2 separate regions of the Homo sapiens genome follow, and region 1 is linked to region 2. Evidence: promoter capture Hi-C in human tissues and cell types (Jung and others, 2019). All regions are on one chromosome and are shown on one strand. The core of a region is centred on a gene start or on the middle of the fragment in contact, and the rest is flanking DNA. Distances in the headings are between cores, read along the strand shown.

The links. Contacts are between HindIII fragments. The study calls those that stand out against the background at their distance.
Region 1: a contact is called between a fragment that was not itself captured here and the fragment with the promoter of BPIFA3 in region 2, in 2 of the 25 tissues and cell types used here (IMR-90 fibroblasts and lymphoblastoid cells).

Annotation. Positions count from the first base shown.
Region 1 is chr20:33,069,109-33,074,476 of GRCh38, reverse strand. BPIFB3 (BPI fold containing family B member 3) reads right to left here. Exons shown (of 16, transcript NM_001376932.3): 12 at 4,522-4,589; 13 at 3,182-3,224; 14 at 2,310-2,373; 15 at 1,684-1,760; 16 at 630-901. The coding sequence ends at 872. Among named protein-coding and RNA genes, the nearest start is that of BPIFB4, 7.8 kb to the left of the region's middle. The HindIII fragment of the contact is 5,429 bases long and covers 1-4,316 here.
Region 2 is chr20:33,215,684-33,220,290 of GRCh38, reverse strand. BPIFA3 (BPI fold containing family A member 3) reads right to left here and starts at 2,939. Exons shown (of 7, transcript NM_178466.5): 1 at 2,628-2,939. The coding sequence starts at 2,754. The HindIII fragment of the contact is 14,641 bases long and covers 1-4,607 here.

The sequences.
Region 1 (5,368 bases), core at 353-2,852, 140 kb after region 2:
TCACCAAAGGTGCCCATCGTAAGCAGTGGGGAGAAGCCCAGGACCTAGAGGCAGGACCCCTAGTCTCTCATCCCAACTCTGCCGCTGTGTGGACCAGGGCCAGCCAAGCCCTGCTCTGGCTTCAGTCTCCCCATCTGCACCAAGAGCGTTTGGCACAGCTCTGTTCTGAGCTGTGTCCATGTCTGATGTGCAGCCAATAGGGACCCCCCCACACCACAGGGCAAGAACAAGTCTCACTCATCCTTGCTTCCTGGGGTGCTAGTGCCTTTGTTTCCTGGAAAGCTCCTATTCTCCCTTCAAAATTCAGCTCAGATGTCACTTCTGATAAGCATCCCAAAGTCAGAAACAGAGAAAAATGCAGACTCAGAGAGAGAGAGAGTGAAAAGTAGAAGTATTTAGAGAAAGAGAGAGAGAGAGAGCTGGAGGCAAGGGGGGCAGGGACAGAGAGGAAGGCAGAACAGGACACAGAGGCTGCCCAGGCCAACAAGGTCAGTTTGGGACTCAAAGCTACAATGACAAGGCCCTGAGTCCCCTCACCTCCCAGAAGCTCCTACCTGGAGCTAAGGAGGGCACTGGAGGCAAAGGCCAAGTCAAGTCCTACGTGACTGGGGAATAAACCAGCCAGGAGATACCGAGATACAGGAGTCATTTATTGAAAGCTCAGGGTTTGCTACTGAGGCCCCAGAGCTCTCTCTGAGGCAGTTCTATGATTAGCCAGGCAGTTCCCACCCCAAACTTGGAGTAGTGCTTCAGGGCCAGAGGGCATTTTTACTGTCACCAACATCAGCTAGAGACTGGGAGGGAAATTGAGGCAGAGTAGACAGGTGGTCTCTAGTAGTCAACAGGGAAGGCTGGTGGCCATGTCTCAGCCTCAGGATGCCACGGTCAGCACAACAGCATTCTGTAAGGAACAACCGCTCTTGGTTACACCCCTGAGTCTCTGCAATGCCCCATCCCTGCAGCCATCTTTACTCCCCTGCCCTGGGATTGGCCCTGTACCTGGAACACAGCAGGCACTCATTAAATGAATAAATGAATGATGAAAAAATGACATCCAGTGTGGGACAGGCTCTGACTTGAGGACTTAATAGACTCAAGTTCAACTGCCATTTCTGCTATTAATTTACTGGTGAACTTGGGCCAGAAATCTGACCTACTTCAGCCTTGGTCCTCATCTGAGAAATGGGTACAGAACTCTCTGCTCTGCCCACCTCCTAGAGCTATTCCACCACCCAAAGTTGGGCTGGTTTGAAAAGGATTGTGAGGCCATATCAATATTCCACAAGAAAAAGGGTCATGATCCATTGGTCATATCTGCTGCAGACACAAGATAAGGGAGAGATGGCATATGTATTTGTTGCTGTTGGACCAGGGGAACTGTGATTCTGTGAGTGAATCTTAGGTTCCATTCTAGAGGCCAGACATGTCTCTGAATCCAATGGGAAAGAACTCCGTGATTGATTGATGATGTCTGCCATGGGCAAGAAATGGAGGAGTAGTAGCACACATGTCATATATTTGCCATTCCTAAGTTAGGCAATTTGTAACTCACTGAGAAATTTAGAAAATGGATCAGGGACAGACAAGAGGATGAAGCAAAGCATTCCCCTCATTAGTTTCAAGCAGAGCTTTCCAGAGACAAGCTTAAGGCCCACCTGGGCCGTATCTGCAGAGAAGGCTCACCTCTACGATCTCCAGAACTGAATTGGAAAAATTGATATTAAGAACCTTAGGCAGGGGAATTCCAACATCCAGGGCCACTGTGAAAAGAGAATCGTTGAAAACAAAGGTACATTGGTGGGGAGCTCTTGGACCCTAGGAACCCTCGGACCCTGCTGACCCTATTCCATCACTTTCACTAGCCAGCCAGTTCTCTTCTCACAGAATCAGCTTCTTATTGGCAAACTCCTACTCATCCTCCTACACCCAAACAAAAATGTCCCTATTCTGTATTGTGTCAGTGGTGCCCCCGTGTCAAGCCTCCTAAAGGCTTCATCAATCCCTTACACACTCTGGGTCATCTATATTCTAATCATTTGTTTATATGATTATTTCCTACTAGACTGTGGGAGCTTAAGGCAGGACTGAGGTCAGATCAGCGCTTGAAGTCCATAGGCTGGCAAGATGTAGGTGCTAATCAATGTCATTTAAATGGAAAAATTGGTGCCTCAGTTTCTGCATCTTGCAAATGAGGATCGACCTCTCTCTCTGGCCTCAGTGTCCCCATCAGAACCATAAAGAGAGGCAACAGACTAGACAATACCAAATTCAGACACTCCATGTGTCCAAGAGAGCAAAACCTGCCATACCGTTAAGCTTTGGTGCATACACTGCCCCGACCACATGGCTGAGCCATTCTTCTAAACGCGATCCCTGCAACAGAACACACAGGGTGGTGGGGGTGGTGCTCTGGGGTGTGGCTTTACAGGCAGCAGCATCCCGTTCCCAGGGAGAGAAACCCAGGGGCCCAGCTGCCTCAGCCTCCCCCAAGCCTGAGGACACAGCTCCTGGCAGGCACTGGGCACTTGGGGGTGGCCTGGGCTGTCCACCAGTGACCTCGAAAGAGATTCTGTGATTTAGGCTGGCTTTACCCCAGGCCCCATGAGCTTGGAAGAAGTGCCTTCCTATAAGACTCTGTTGGGGCTGGAGGTGGGCAGTGCCTAAGAAAGAGGGAAGGAAATGTGCCCAGCTCCAGTCTATGGGGTCTGACCTTAGATTCCTGTCAGTTTAGGGACTCTGAGAATGTTCTAGAACCTGAGCCCATGGTGAGATTCCAGAACCTCAGAACTCTGTAAGAAGCAGGAACCTCGGGGCTCTGTGAGCTCTGAAATGGAACTTGCTGAGTTCGGGAAATTTATTACTTGGGAGAAGTTCCAGAATGATGGACCCTTGTGAGGTTCTAGATGTCCACAACTTTGTGAGGTTCCAAGACCGTGGAAGATCATGAGATTCACTTTCCTAAGATGATCACTGTTTCTCTCTCTCTCTCCCCACTGCCCACACCCCCTGCTCTCTCTCACGCACACCCGCCCTGATATTTGCCCACTCTGGCTTAATTGGGGAGGATCCCAGTCCTGAGGTCAGCTCAGTCATATGGCCCATGACTCATGGCCACCCCCTTTCCATGCCACACCTGAAGACTCTCATCACTGCCAAGCCCCTCACCCTCCCAGGAACTTACGTCAAAGGCATGGGTAAAGGAGGAGGCCACCTTGACACTGAGCCTGGTGGAGAGAAGAGAGATGCTGGGGCCCCCGCTACCCCCAACCACCCCTGTCCCACCCCCAGCCTGCCCCACCATAGCTCTCATCATCAGGAAACAGGATTACCAGCCCAACACTCTGCCTCTATCCAGCCTTGACTCAGAGACTCAGTTTTCCTACCTGTAAAATGGACCCAAAGGGACCTAACCTCCCTTCTGAGGCATCATGACCACCACCTCTGGCCTTGGCGCCTTTGTCTGACTCCCAGCTATTTGACCCTGGGCAGGTGGCTGAACCATTCAGAGGAGTGACCTCCCCCAGACTGAGCACTGGACACAGAGTGCCTTGCATACAGCAGGTGCTCACTCAAGGCAGCAACTCACTGATGGATCATATCTGGCCCAAGTGCAGATTCAGGGCCAGAGCCTGGGCACGCATCTCTACCTCCTAAAAGACTGAGGCGTGAACTGCCATCAGGAAGTGGAGGTGCACCCAGGCAGCAGGCGAGGCCCTCCATCAAAGTCGGCAATGGGGCAACAATGGAAGGCAGAGGCCAGCAGTGGCCTGAGGAGCCTGTGGGGGTGCTAAGACGGAGTCAGAGGAGCACTGGGTGCCTGTGGCGTAGGACGTCAGGTCTCAGCAATCTCCAGGAAAGTCCCTACTGCCAGGGGAGGGACAGACAGGCCGGGGCCCTGCCATGGTGACAGCACTGAGGCCCAGACTGCAGACCTGCTCTAGGGACGGCCTGCCGTGTGAGCCTGGGCCAGCACGGCGTTTTGCAAACTGTAAAGTACTGTGCATGTAGATGGTGCTTTGCAAACTGTAAAGTACTGTGCGTGTAGATGAAGGACTGTCACCAACACCATCATTCTGGTCATTATGATTATCTTGATGGACGCCTAGTTACCACAGGGGTGAGGAGAATAGAGAAGTAACAAGTAACAAGTCCACATAAATAACAACACATTTCCTGACACTCAAGGCCGGTTGTCTCTTGGTTAGCCTCTGGGGCTGATAACTCAGGAGTTTGGACTCCACATCCTGGCGGCAGGTTTATCTTTCAGAGGCAGGTTTTCAGCAGCAAAAGGGTGCCGTGGAAGAAGCCCACTCTTGAGCCTGCTGCTCTGAGCCCCCGATTCCTTGTCTATAACATGGACTAACACTGTCTCCTCCCTGGCGGGTCCTGAAGGCAAGGAGGATGCTGGAAAAACACCTGGAATTGCGCTGATGCTCAAGAAACGGGAGGCGGATCCTGTCAGCCCCTAATTCTTGTTCCTAAAGACAAGAACAAGATCCTGTCCCCAGGATCCCAAGTTACCGTTCCAGGGACAGGGAGATGTGCAGCTTGGTAGCCGAGGGAGCCAGCTGGGCACGCACAGTCATGACCTGCATGGGCAAAGCAGGCAGAAGTCACCCCCAATCGGCAGAAGGAGCTTGAGGACGGGTCTGCCTCCATCCATCTGTTCCGTCCACTAACCCTTACTGAGGCCCTACTGTGTGTCAGGGTCTGTGCTGAGCCCTGAGAAGGTAATTTGAAGGTTTTGCTGTTTTCTTGAACAGCAGAGAACCACAGTATTAAAATTGAGGGCAATTGGTAATGTAGGAGAGGAAGCTCTGGGGCTGCAGGAGCTTGGAGAGCCCCTCAAGCATGCCTGCTGTACGGTGAGGGAAGGCCTTTCCAGTGAGGTAACAGTTGAATCTTGAAAGATGAGGAGTTAGTGGAAGGAAGGGGAAAATGGTACTCCAGGTGGTGGACCTAGCACAGACAAGCCAGGGAGGGAGGACCTGGTAGACCTGAGTAGCTGAGGCTTAGGGGACAAGGACGGGCAAGGCAAGGATGGGGCAGAAGGACAATGAATGTCAGGCTCAGGTGTTTGGCCATGGGGAGCCAAGGTGGAGGATAGGGGGAGGGGCCTGCCTCGGTCCAGATGTGTGCAGAGGTGCGATGGAGGAAGCTGACTGGAGCGGGAGGGTCAGAGGAAGCTGGAGGGTCGTCAGGGAGATAGCTGGGCAGAGAGGCTGGGGAGATGGGGAGCAACGTCTGAGATCCCCAAGAAGCAGTGTGGGCAGCCCAAACAGGCCCAGGCAGACATGACAGGAGGGAGCAGGCAGGAACTGAAGCAGGGGCTTGGGTCTCAGCCCAGATGATGACAGTGGTTGTGGGG
Region 2 (4,607 bases), core at 1,690-4,189:
GAGTAGCTGGGACTACAGGCCCTCACCACCACGCCCGGCTAATTTCTTGTATTTTTAGTAGAGATGGGATTTCACCGTGTTAGCCAGGATGGTCTCGATCTCCTGACCTTGTGATTCGCCCACCTCAGCCTCTCAAAGTGCTGGGATTACAGGCGTGAGCCACTGCGCCCGCCCTGATTTTTTTTTTTTTTTTAAGAGACAGGGTCTTTGTTGCCCAGGCTGGAGTGCAGTGGCACAATTATAACTCATTGCAGTCTCAAACTCCTGGGCACAAGTGATCCTCCCACCTCAGCCTCCCAAGTAGCTGGGACTACAGGTGTGTGCCACCATGCCTGGCTAATTTTCTAATTTTATTTTTGTAGAGACAGGATCTTGATATGCTGCCCAGGCTGGTCTTGAATTCCTAGGCTCAAGCGATTTCCCACCTCAGCCTCTTAAAGTGCTAGGGAGCCACCGTGCTCGGCCAGACGAATTTTTTAAAGGAACTCAACACACTCTAAAATTCATTTGGAAGAATATAGGTCTGTCAGATAAAACAGCATTTTACAAAGATGTTGTATTTACAATATTATGTTATTGGTGTAAAACAGATGTACAGATACAGCATAGGGAGTTCAGCAGTGAATCCTCATTTTTGGGAATTTGATCATTTAGTAGATGAGTTGGGGAAACTGAGTCATATGGAGAGAAGCGAAGCTGAATCTCTGCCTTACATACACAGGCATACATAAAGATAGCCTCCAGAGATGGGTTAAAATCTTAAATGTGAAAGGTAAAACTATAAAGCTATTAGAAAAAAACAAAGTAGAATATGTCTGAGGTAGGAGCAAGGTCTTAAGACTTTCCAAACACAAACTATAAAACAAAATATTGATGAATTTGAAAATATTCCTGTTCAGTGAAGGACCTACAAAGTTAACAGATGACAGTTTGGGAGAAATATTCACAATGCATAAATCTGACAAAGGGCTAATGTCAAGAATTAAGTAATGTCTCTTCAAGTCAAAGAGGATTAAAAAAACCCAGAAAAGCAAATTTAAAAATGGATAAAAGGTAAGAACAGGGAATTCAAAGAAGTCAAAATGGGGCTGGGCACAGTGGCTTACACTTGTAATGCCAGCACTTTGGGAGGCCGAGGTGGGTAGATCACTTGAGGTCAGGGGTTCGAGACCGCCTGGCCAACATGATGAAACCCCATCGCCACTAAATATACAAAAATTAGCCGGGCATGGTGGCATGCACCTGTAATCTCAGCTACTCAGGAGGCTGAGGCAGGAGAATTGCTTGAACCTGGGAGGTGGACGTTGCAGTGAGCCAAGATCATGCCACTGCACTGCAGCCTGGGTGACACAGTGAGACTCTGTCTCCAAGAAAAAAAGTCAAAATGGTTAACAAAAGTATAAGATGCTCAAACTTCCCACTCACCAGATAAAGTCAAGCTAAAACAAGTAGTTATCACTCAACTACACATCAAACTGGCAAAAAAAAAAAAGTAGAAAAATAGTGTCATAGATCAAATTGTGCCCTCTCCTCCCCCAGTGCGACTGTCTTTGGAGATAGGGCCTTTAAAGAGCTAATTAAGGTTAAACGAGGTCATTAGGGTATGGCCCTAAACTGATGGGATTGGTGTCCTTATAAGAAGAAACAGATCTCTTTCTCTGCATGCACAGAGAAAAGGCTGTATGGAGACATCGAGAAGGTGTCCGTCTGCAAGCCAGCAAGACAGGCCTCACCAGAAACCAACCCTATTTGCATCTTGATCTTGGACTTCCAGCCTCCAGAACTGTGAGAAAATGAATGTGTGTTGTTTAATTCCCAGTCTGTGGTGTCTTGTGAGGACAGCCCTAGCTGACTGATACAGCTCAGTACTCGGCAGTGCTGGGGAACATGGGGAGACAGGTATGCTCATTTCTTACTGGAGCACGTGTAGACCACACAGCCATTCTAGAGAGGATTCTGGCAGTTTTGGTTAAATTGAGTTCACCTCTACCCCAGGACCCAACCACTCTCCTTCTGGGTTTATCCCAGGGAAATTCTCCCACAGGCTGTAACAGGGACACTTGCAAGGAGGTTCATCTCAGTGTAGTTTATAATCATGGAGAGTTAGAGACAACCTGCATGTCCATCCAGAGGGGAGCAGCCAAATAAACTGAGGTGGATGAATCTTATGGCTCTTTCTGCACCAGCTGAAGCAACATAGATGTCAACAGCATAGTGCTGAGTGAAACCCAACACTATACAATTTATGTAAATTAAAGTACAATACAATTTATGTAAATTAAAGTACTGTACATACAAGGACACAGGCATATTTAAGTACATCCATTAAACACGCTGCAATGCCTGCCAAGGCAGTAGGGATATGGGGTGAGAATAAGTCATAAAGGGGGAAAATAAGAAAATAAAACAAAAGGGGGACCTTGCAGTGATTTGTGCCAATGAGGATGTGCTAGAAATTGGCATATGATCAACACAACCTCAATTTTCTGTACTTGAGGTCTAAGAAAAAGAGAAGAGGGAAAGTGACTAACCTGAAGTCACCCAGCGGGTTAGCAGTGGAGCCCAGATGGCACCTTCCCACCTCCCCAGCCCCGTAGGCAGCAGGCAGAGCCCGGGGCTTAGCTTACTTCTTGCCAGGGTGGATTTGTTGTCTCTGTGGGCTTGGGCCAGGCCAGGCCAAGGCTGCTTGTGTGGTGCCAAGGGCAAGGCCAGCAACCCGAGGAAGATGAGGAGCCTCCAGAGTGGACACATCATAGGGTCTGGGACCTGCAGATGTCAAGAGTGTCAGATGGGGCCTGGGCAGACGGCTTTGAGGGTGGCAGTCTGGAGGGATGGTCTAATGGTTTTCTGCAGAAAGATGACATCAGAATTAGCCCCCAGCATGCTGTGGGGAGGGGCTGCACTGGACCCTGGCGCTGCCACCAGGGCTTGCTCACATTGGGAGAGCAACATGTGGAACCCTGGGAGGAGGCCAGGGCTCCAGAGGGAGGCCTTGTTGCTTGGAGACACTCACCAGAGTCTATTGTTGGGTCATCCAACAGGAGTCCTCTCCCAGACCCTGGCACAGGCTGGATGTTAGTGACTCTTTAGTGAACCAATGAATGAATACATTTGAGTGAGGATGGCTAACCCCAGGCTCTCCAATTGGGTTAGGACTTTCTTAAGGGCATGACCAACCACTTCAATCCCTACCACGATACTTGCTTGTCAGAAATTGAGTGTTAATGAATGTTTGTTGAGTGACCAAACGACTGAATTGATGAGTGGAGATGGTTGATCTCTGAATCTCCTCTGAATTATGAGTTTCTTGAGGGCAGGGTATGAGTCTAATTAATCCTCATGTCTACAGTGCCTCCCATGTTTGCCACATGGTAAGTACTGGTGAATGTTTGTTAATGCTACAAATGAATGAATAACTGGATGGATGGATCTTATCTTTCTGGATAAGAATTACAGACTCTTGAAGCCAAAGCATCAGGTTGACCTTGGAGCCCTGGGGTTGGGATTCAGAGAGAATTCAGTTTAAGTCCCCTGTCCTCACTCTTAGGAAATGGTGCCAAGTCCATCTAGTTGTTCTACTCCCAGCCGGTGGAGCTGCCCTTTCCTCCCCTTTTCCCATCTCCCACAACCCATCTGTCAGGAGATCCTGCTGACACTTCCAGAACATGACCACATATAACAACTACTCCTCAGCCACCATCAGCTTGATCTGAATTATTGCCAGTGGGTCCCGGCTGGTTTCCCAGCTTTTAACTGTGCCCACCCACAATCTCTTCCACACAGCAGCCTGAACAGTCATTTTAAGATGTAAGGTAGGCCGGGTGCGGTGGCTCATGCCTGTAATCCCAGCACTTTGGGAGGCCGAAGCAGGCGTATCATGAGGTCAGGAGTTCAAGACCAGCCTGGCCAACATGGTGAAACCCCGTCTCTACTAAAAATACAAAAAATTAGCTGGGTGTGGTGGCACATGCCTGTAGTCCCAGCTACTTGTGAGGCTGAGGCAGCAGAATCACTTGAACCCAGGAGGCAGAGGTTGCAGTGAGCTGAGATCACACTACACTGCACTCTAGCCTGGCAACAGAGCAAGACTCCAACTCAAAAAAAAAAAAAAAAAAAGATGTAAGGTAGACCACCATGCCACTCCTCTGCTCAAAACCCTCCAGCATTTCCTACTGCACACAGAGCAAAAGCCACATTCCATGCAACACCTCCCAGGCCCAGGAGGGTCCCTGCATCCTCTTGGACCGCACTGCCTGCAGCTCTCTCTTCCCCACTCCACTGCAGCAGCACAGGTCTCGGATGTCTGGGCCCCACCTTGCCATTGCTGTGAGCTCTGAGACAAAGGCGTTTGTCACTGTCCCTGTGCTGTTTCCCCATACTACGGGCGACATAGAGGGTCCCATGTGGATGAGGGATGGGAACGTCCTTTGCAAATTTCACAGAAGCCTTGGGGCTATTCTTGGGCAATTCACTCTGGTTTTGTAAGAGATTGTACTGAGAAAGCCTTGGTTCAGGGTGTTGGCTTTCCCTGTTTGAGGTCCTTTCTCAGAGTTCATGCTCCCCTTGGGGATGTTTGTAGAATATCACTTACTTCAAAATGTATTTTT